Regions from separate parts of the Homo sapiens genome. Here region 1 is linked to region 2. Evidence: promoter capture Hi-C in human tissues and cell types (Jung and others, 2019). All regions are on one chromosome and are shown on one strand. The core of a region is centred on a gene start or on the middle of the fragment in contact, and the rest is flanking DNA. Distances in the headings are between cores, read along the strand shown.

The links. Contacts are between HindIII fragments. The study calls those that stand out against the background at their distance.
Region 1: a contact is called between the fragment with the promoter of NUP210L here and the fragment with the promoter of S100A13 in region 2, in 2 of the 25 tissues and cell types used here (H1 embryonic stem cells and ovary).

The regions. Positions count from the first base shown.
Region 1 is chr1:154,153,780-154,157,607 of GRCh38, forward strand. NUP210L (nucleoporin 210 like) reads right to left here and starts at 1,294. Exons shown (of 40, transcript NM_207308.3): 1 at 1,063-1,294. The coding sequence starts at 1,265. It also overlaps a transcript of TPM3 not described here. RefSeq lists enhancers at 627-1,127, 1,128-1,628 and a silencer at 2,235-2,412. The HindIII fragment of the contact is 16,458 bases long and covers 1-3,828 here.
Region 2 is chr1:153,626,226-153,630,327 of GRCh38, forward strand. It overlaps S100A13 (S100 calcium binding protein A13), which reads right to left and starts at 1,280. Exons shown (of 3, transcript NM_001024211.2): 1 at 1,258-1,280; 2 at 95-308. The coding sequence starts at 247. S100A1 (S100 calcium binding protein A1) reads left to right here and starts at 2,209. Exons shown (of 3, transcript NM_006271.2): 1 at 2,209-2,271. RefSeq lists enhancers at 702-1,527, 2,354-3,177. The HindIII fragment of the contact is 14,694 bases long and covers 1-4,102 here.

The DNA of each region.
Region 1 (3,828 bases), core at 44-2,543, 530 kb after region 2:
TTTCAATGCTGGAAAGATGCCTTGCATCACCCTCACGGTCAGGAAACACACACGTCACACTGGATCATCTTACAAGCTCACTTTCCTTATACTTCCTCATAAAATGAGAGGTGAATTTATACTCGGAACAAACCTCATTGCTTCTCCTAGGAGATGGCAAAGGGGTATCTACTCCATCTAGGATGAATGCACTGGCATCCTGAAGCTCACTTCGGTTAGGTTCTCTCATACCTTAGGCAACCACATAACCCATCATTGGGTCCTCTCACACCAGAAAATCATGTCTCTTCATCTTCAGTCAGGAAGTCATTATCCCGGAGTTGTGTGTACCCCCTGTCCTCACACTTCAAGCGGGTACCCTTTTATAAATGGGGCAATTTTGATAATACAGACAGATCTCATCTCCACCCACGATAAATCTTCTCATATTCCCAGAAGTTTACACTTCATAGTCTCTGGGCCTCACTTTCCTCGTCTGTGAAATGGGAGTAATAGTACTTACTTCATAAGACTGCAAAAAGCGAATGAGTTAACACATGTAAAGTGCTTAGTTAACCCCCAATACTTGGCTGTTGTGTTTTAAGTCCTTCTCACATTGAATAGCTCATCTATAGTTAGTGGGGACCCTCGCACCCCAAGTTTTCCTGTTCCTACAGAAATTTCCTCAGATATGGGGAACTTCCTCTTACTCTAGTTGTTTACATTGGAAGTCATCAGTACCTGTGGCCTCCAACACAGGGCTTCCCTTTACCCTGACGGCTGCTCATAGTGACCACCCCTTCCCAACACACACAGAGAAGAGGCCAGTCCCACATCCCGAGAATTCCTCACACGTCTGGAAGATTGTCACACAGCTGGAGGATATACCACATGAGTAGGACACGCCACACCCAAGGGTCTGCTCCTCGCCACCTTCACTGACACCACACTCTCCTCCCCTACCGGCTAGGCCCCTTCACGCGGCCCCACACGGTATTCCTGTGGGATCTTACAGAGGGAACCCCCCTCACCCTTACTGGATGGTAGTGAGGGTGCATATCCTTGTCACCCACCACCCCTCACCAAGTGTAGCAGCCCCGCTGGGCCTCCAGCAGGAAAGGCACCCGGCCTGGCTCTCGGCCGAAGGGTAGCAACACCTGTGGCACGTTAAGTTTGTTGGCCAGGGTCCCACGCAAAACCAGAAACAACAACAGGAGGCGGTGTAGACGCAAGAAGAAAAAGAGCCCGAAGCCTCGGCGTCTTGATGACGCCGGACAGCCAGTCATGGCGACTGCCAGGTCTCGGGTTCCCGCTCAACTACAGCCGGCTCACAGCTCCATCAGCCAATCCACAGGCGTGACGTCAGCAGAGGGGGATGGGACCTGCTTCTTGCTCGGATGTGTGGGCATTTTTAAATGCAGTCCTTCAGCAAGCCAATATAATGGAAACTTTTGGCACAAACCCAGCTAAAACACCTCAAACTCTCTTAAAGGGCTTTCCTAAATACTGGATGGCAGACCTTTTTAACAGTAAGGAACAAGCAGAAAAGTCTAAAAAAAACCCTTTAATTTCTTCCAGTTTTAATTTCTTCTGTTGCACACTGTTTATCTTAACACCACACCCTCCGCCCGACAAAAAAACTTTTTGCAATGATTTCCAGTTAGCATTGGTCCATGCCTATCAACGGAAAATTGTGCAGTCTCTGGGATAAACAGCTCGACTTTGTCAAGGGAACCGTGTATTTTTACTAGAAGTCAGATTCACGTCCGGCCTCCAGGCCAGAATGCAGGAAATGCCAGACACTGGCGTCTCAAAAGCAGCTTTCAAAGTTATCCACTCACACAGCCGGCCTCTAAGCAAATACTCTTGAGAGCACTTGTTGTTTTCTCCAAATATCCAAACAGAATATAAACTCAAAGCTGTTTCAGTACAGTTGGTTAAAACCACGCATTTATAGTAGTGATCAGCATTATATATTGTTTTAAGGAGCATAAATCCATAGTTTATAAGGATTGATATGGTTGTGAAGGAAAATGTATATAGTTCAGCCTGAGATGTCAGTGTTAACCTATAAAAGGCCCAGCACATTAAGTGTTCTTTCTAATCTTCATGTTTACTCTGACAATACTTATCTCCATTTTACAGATGATAAAACTAAACATTTGCTCTATATTAAATCCTGTTGCTCCAGCTGGGTGCGGTGGCTCACGCCCGTAATCCCAGCATTTTGGGAAGCTGAGGCAGGTGGATCACCTGAAGGTCAGGAGTTCGAGACCAGCCTGGCCAACATGGTGAAGCCCTGTCTCTACTTAAAATATAAAAAATTACCCGGGCATGGTGGCAGGTGCCTGTAATCCCAGCTACTCGGGAGGCTGAGGCAGGAGAATCTCTTGAACCAGGAGGCGGAGGTTGCAGTGAGCCGAGATCGAGCCATTACGCTCCAGCCCAGGCAACAAGAATGAAACTTCATCTCAAAAATAATAATAATAAAGAATAAATCCTGTTGCTACCACCCACAAAGATGCTATTTTTAACCCAAACCTCATAGCTTCTGTGGAGAAAGCACATTTAGTTTTAATAAATAAAAGTCAAATAGGTCTGAGGGTTGGAGGGACTGGTTCTTTATTTCAAAAAGACACTTGTCAATATTCAGTATCAAAACAGTTGCACTATTGATTTCTCTTTCTCCCAATCGGCCCCAAAGAGACCACATAAAAGGAGAGTACATTTTAAGCCAATAAGCTGCAGGATGTACACCTAACAGACCTCCTAGAAACCTTACCAGAAAATGGGGACTGGGTAGGGAAGGAAACTTAAAAGATCAACAAACTGCCAGCCCACGGACTGCAGAGGCTGTCACAGCCAGATGGGGTGGCCAGGGTGCCACAAACCCAAAGCAAAGTTTCAAAATAATATAAAATTTAAAAAGTTTTGTACATAAGCTATTCAAGATTTCTCCAGCACTGACTGATACAAAGCACAATTGAGATGGCACTTCTAGAGACAGCAGCTTCAAACCCAGAAAAGGGTAATGAGATGAGTTTCACATGGCTAAATCAGTGGCAAAAACACAGTCTTCTTTCTTTCTTTCTTTCAAGGAGGCAGGAAAGCAATTAAGTGGTCACCTCAACATAAGGGGGACATGATCCATTCTGTAAGCAGTTGTGAGGGGGTAGAGATGGGACAAAATTTTGGTCTCAGAGGTCTTACCATCTTAATTTGGTAACTTCTAATGAAAAAAATAAAAAATAGAAATAACATTATCCAAAGATATCTTAAAGCTGAAAACTTGAACAGCACATTTTTTGTTTTTGTTGTTGTTTGGCTAACTCCTCCTGGAATCACCTTTCTGGTTTAGCTAGTACTTTGTACAGAACAATGAGGTTTCCCACAGCGGAGTCTCCCTGGGCTCTGTTTGGCTCTCGGTAAGGCAGGCCTACACCTTTTCCTCTCCTCTATGGAGAGGGGAATATGCATTAAGGTGAAAAGTCACCTTCCAAAAGTGAGAAAGGGATTCGATTGCTGCTTCAGGACTGTGGAATTATTTGGAATGTTTTACAAATGGTTGCTACAAAACAACAAAAAAGGTAATTACAAAATGTGTACATCACAACATGCTTTTTAAAGACATTATGCATTGTGCTCACATTCCCTTAAATGTTGTTTCCAAAGGTGCTCAGCCTCTAGCCCAGCTGGATTCTCCGGGAAGAGGCAGAGACAGTTTGGCGAAAAAGACACAGGGAAGGAGGGGGTGGTGAAAGGAGAAAGCAGCCTTCCAGTTAAAGATCAGCCCTCAGTTAAAGGTCAGCTTCCCGCAGGCTGGCCTCAGGCGGAGTCTGGGTCAGAGGG
Region 2 (4,102 bases), core at 30-2,529:
GTGGTCACCTCACCGTACTCGGCACCATCACGTCCTAAACACAGTGTCCCATAATCATCATCTCACAAAATCTCAGTCCCAGACTTCTGCCTACCTTGAGCAGATGGGGCAACTGCTGGGTAACCAGCTCTTTGAACTCGTTGACGCTGAGGCTATCCTTCCGGCCCTCCTGCCTTGCAAAGGTGAAGAAGGTGGTGACCACGGTCTCAATGGACTCCTCTAGCTCTGTCAGTGGTTCTGCTGCCATTAGGACCCTGAGGCCAAAGCTGATGTCCTCAAGGGGCTAGCTGACCTTTGTCAGGGCTGACCTGTGGAAGAGAGAAGGAGCAGAGAGGGAGAGTCAGGGAGCCCCAAGATGCAGGAATGGTTCAGAAGGTCCCTGCCTTGGTGTTATCACATCAGTCTCAGCCTGGAGGGGGCATATGGGGAAAGAGGGAGAGGACAGGGGTTGAGCTTGGGGCAGCAGACCAGGCAACGGCATCTCAGTTTTGGTGGGGGCAGGAGATTCAGCTCCAGAAACCCCCTCTTCTGTAGGTCTCACAATCCGGGATCCTTTTTAAATGTCTGTGGCTTAGGGACCCCTCTGTGGTGATCCCTCGATCTGGAGACCCCTCTACTTGAGAGGAGGTCTTCAGTTGAAGGTCCTTCTTGGAGTCCTTCAAGTCTGGTGGCCCCTCTGTGGCGTGTCTGTCTCAAGAATCCCTTCTTGTCTCACCCAGACTCACAGGTCATAAGGTTGTTTGTCTCCAAAGCTTGTTTATGTTGGGCCCTGGTCTCCGGCCACTCGCATCCGCCCACACACACTCTAACCGCTCCTCCCAGCAGAGAAGCACAGGGTCTGGCAAATGTCCCCTGTGGTCAGAGCTGGCTCCGTCTGAACAGACCCATTTTCTCTGCCCCGCTCCACCCTTACCTCTCCTCAGCGGCAGCAGGGCAGAGTGCTGAACCCAGGACCCCACAGATCCTCCCCGCTCCTGTCTCCCGGTGACAAGGGTCCTGGAACGGGGCGTCTCTGACTCCCTGCTCCAGGACGGGTTTAGTACAGGCACTCACAACCCCCTGGGGTGCGGCGGGTGGGGCTGGAAGAGGCATTCTCTTTTCTGTCCACCCCGTCACACACTCCTGCACGCGCTGTTGCTCGATCATCCAAAGCTCCTTCCTGAATTCCTGTCTGAGCTGGCTCTGGGGGAGGGACCTGGGAGCCCAGGAAGAAAAAATGATCTCCAGCCTCCCTCCAGGGTCAGCCATGAGACTCACCCGGCAAGGAGATGGGGTAGAGTGAGCTGGAGCCTCAGGGCTGAGGTTTATAAGCAGCGGGGAAGGAGGAGAGAGCTGCTTCCAAGCCCGGAGGTGTCAAATTTCCGTGGTCGATTCTGAAGACCAGAGACAGCCCAATCAGGCCGCTTGCCCTGAGCCCTCAGGTCTGGACCCGGGCTCCCTGCCAGCCACACGAGCGCCCCCACTTGGTCAGGGAGAGGAGCTGCCTGGACAGATCTCGTTCGGCAGGGGTCCCAGGGTCCTAGTCCTCTCAATACTGGGGGCTGCTGCCACCATACCCATGTCTAATCAGGAGTGTGTATGCTGAGGGGGGAAGAGGGAGGCAACCAATCAAGGGAGCTCAACACTGAGAGGCCCAATCTGAGACACACACAGAGGCCCCTTGGAATGAGATCCCACAAAGGATGCTACAGACCAAGATCCCTCAGAGAACCCCAGGCTGAGGCCCCACACACAGAGGGGGATCCAGGTTGAGACCCCCAGAGAAGAGTCCTGGATTGAAATCCCTCTGTGGGTTCTCAGACTCCCAAGACTAAGTTTCTCACTGAGGGTCCTCTCAGTGAGGCCCCATGGAGGAGCCACAGACTAAGACCCCCTCAGCAGAATTCCCCCCTTACCGGGCTCAACCAGCACAGCCAGCCACAGGTACTGCAAGGCCCAGCTTGGGGTAAGACATCCAGTGTCCCTCCCAGGACCTCCTTCCCACCTCTTTCCCCTGCACCATCCACTGCTGCCTGGAGAGAAAGGAACGGGGCAAGCAAGGCTGGGAAAGAGACAAGGGCCGCCTGTTCCAGCCCAGGAGACAGAGGGCGCCTCTGTCTGCTCCTGGCCCCTTGCCCCACAGGGTGTTCGTCTGTGAAGGGGTGGAGTCGGTGGGGGGGTCAGCGGGGGAGGGACTGTTGAAGACAGGTCTCCACACACAGCTCCAGCAGCCACATTTGCAACCTTGGCCATCTGTCCAGAACCTGCTCCCACCTCAGGCCCAGGCCAACCGTGAGTACCCTGCCCCACTGGGCTAGTCCCTGGCCTGCCAGCTTCAGGGAGAGGGGTCTTCAGAAGGGCTCCAAGAGGCTGGGGACCATAGCACTGTGGAGCACTGAGGATCTGGGAGGAGTCAGTCAGGGTGAGGGCAGTTTGGGATTTGGGGGAGACAGGGTTTGGAAGGTGGTGATGAGAGACAAATGAACTGAAGGTCGGAGAGAGAGCTGGCAGCTCAGCAAAGGAGGAAGCCAGTGGGGAACCCACCATGAGCTTCCTGACCGCCTGGCCCTCCCACAGGGAGCCCTCAAGTCCCTGCCAAGGCCCCCTCTGTCTCCCAGGTGTTGGGAAGGGTCCCAGCCCTCCCCTGCCTCGCCTCCTGTGGGGTAAGAAGAGAGCAGATACAACAGCTGTTTCTGCCCCCACCTCTCCTGCCAGCCTTAGTCTCTGCCACCCCCACCCTGCCTTGCCAAGAGCTCAGGTCCCGGGGGAGTCTGGGGGTGGCAGGGCAAAGCTCCCATGATATGGGGAAGCAGAGATGTAGGGTGCTGTGCCCCTTCCCAACTCGACCTCCACAGGACCTCCCCTTTCTCCTCCTCCCATTTTTGGCCCAGACCTCTTGACTCCTCTTTCCCCCCATTCTTACCTCTTTGTTTCCCCATCTCCCCTGCCCCCAAGTCCTCTCAGAACTGCCACCACGTAAAATCCCAGGCTGCTTTAGGGCTCCAGGTGACCTCCAGCTGCCCCTCTGGCATGGAGCAGGTAATCAAGCTACCAGCACCCCTCCCTCAAGCACCCCTTATCCCCTCATCAGCCACAGCTTGGGTTCCATCTCCCCCATGTCTCTGTGACAACTGCTTCTCAGGTCCGGAGTTCAGATGACACTCACAAGGGCCCCATTGAAGAACTGGGATGTCATTCGATCAGGGGCCATTGTCCAGCCCCCTAGGCCTGGGGAAGGATGGGGACATCTGATCCGAGACACCTGAGCTGCCCCCTCTGGGGTTGTGGAAGGCCAGACTGTCCCAGGGCCAAGGGAAAGAGGCCCCCCGGCTTGGCAGTCTTCTCTCTCAACAGACCACTCCTTTCTCCTTTCTTCTCCTACTCTCTCCCAGCCCCTTGAACTCAAAGGACCGCATGCTTTCAGCCCTTTCTCTCCCCCAACACACAGCAGCCCCATTCCCCTTGCTCCCACTATCCCCGAATCAACCAGGAGTGAGCAGTTGCAGGGACAACGCCTGCAGGTCTCCTCTCCCACTCCCTGGGAACTCTGGCTCCAAGGAAAAGGCTCAGACATTCCTCTCTCCCCTTCTGCCACCCACCAGATGGAAGGGATAATTTTGCAGAGGCAATGGGAGCATATCCCAAAGAAGCCAAAATGACATGTTCAGGAGAGAACAGAGTTGAAGGACCAAAAGGGGCCCCCAGCTGCTGACAGGAAACTCAGAGTCAGTGAGACCTCCCTCCCCCAGAAGGCGTACGCCACCCACTGGGGCTGCCATCCCCTCTACCAGGCTGACCGAGGGTACCAGACTGACTCCTTGCTAGGGGTGGGCAGCAGAAGGAAGGCTGTAGTGGACACCCCAGCCCACCACCCTCAACAGCAGAGCTTGGCTATGCTAGACAGGCAAGGTCCAGGGTAAAAATAGAGCCAGAGGAAGCATGGCCCAGTCCTGTGACCACCCCTGCCTGCCCCACCCTCCTCAATCCCTGCCTGGGCAGCCACTGCAGACATCTACCACAGGCCTCTGGAGCCAGCCCAGCTCCAACTGCTCTCTCTCCATGCCCCAACCCTGATTCCCTCTGGCTGGGGTACAGACTGAGGGACACAGAGAACAGGCCTGCA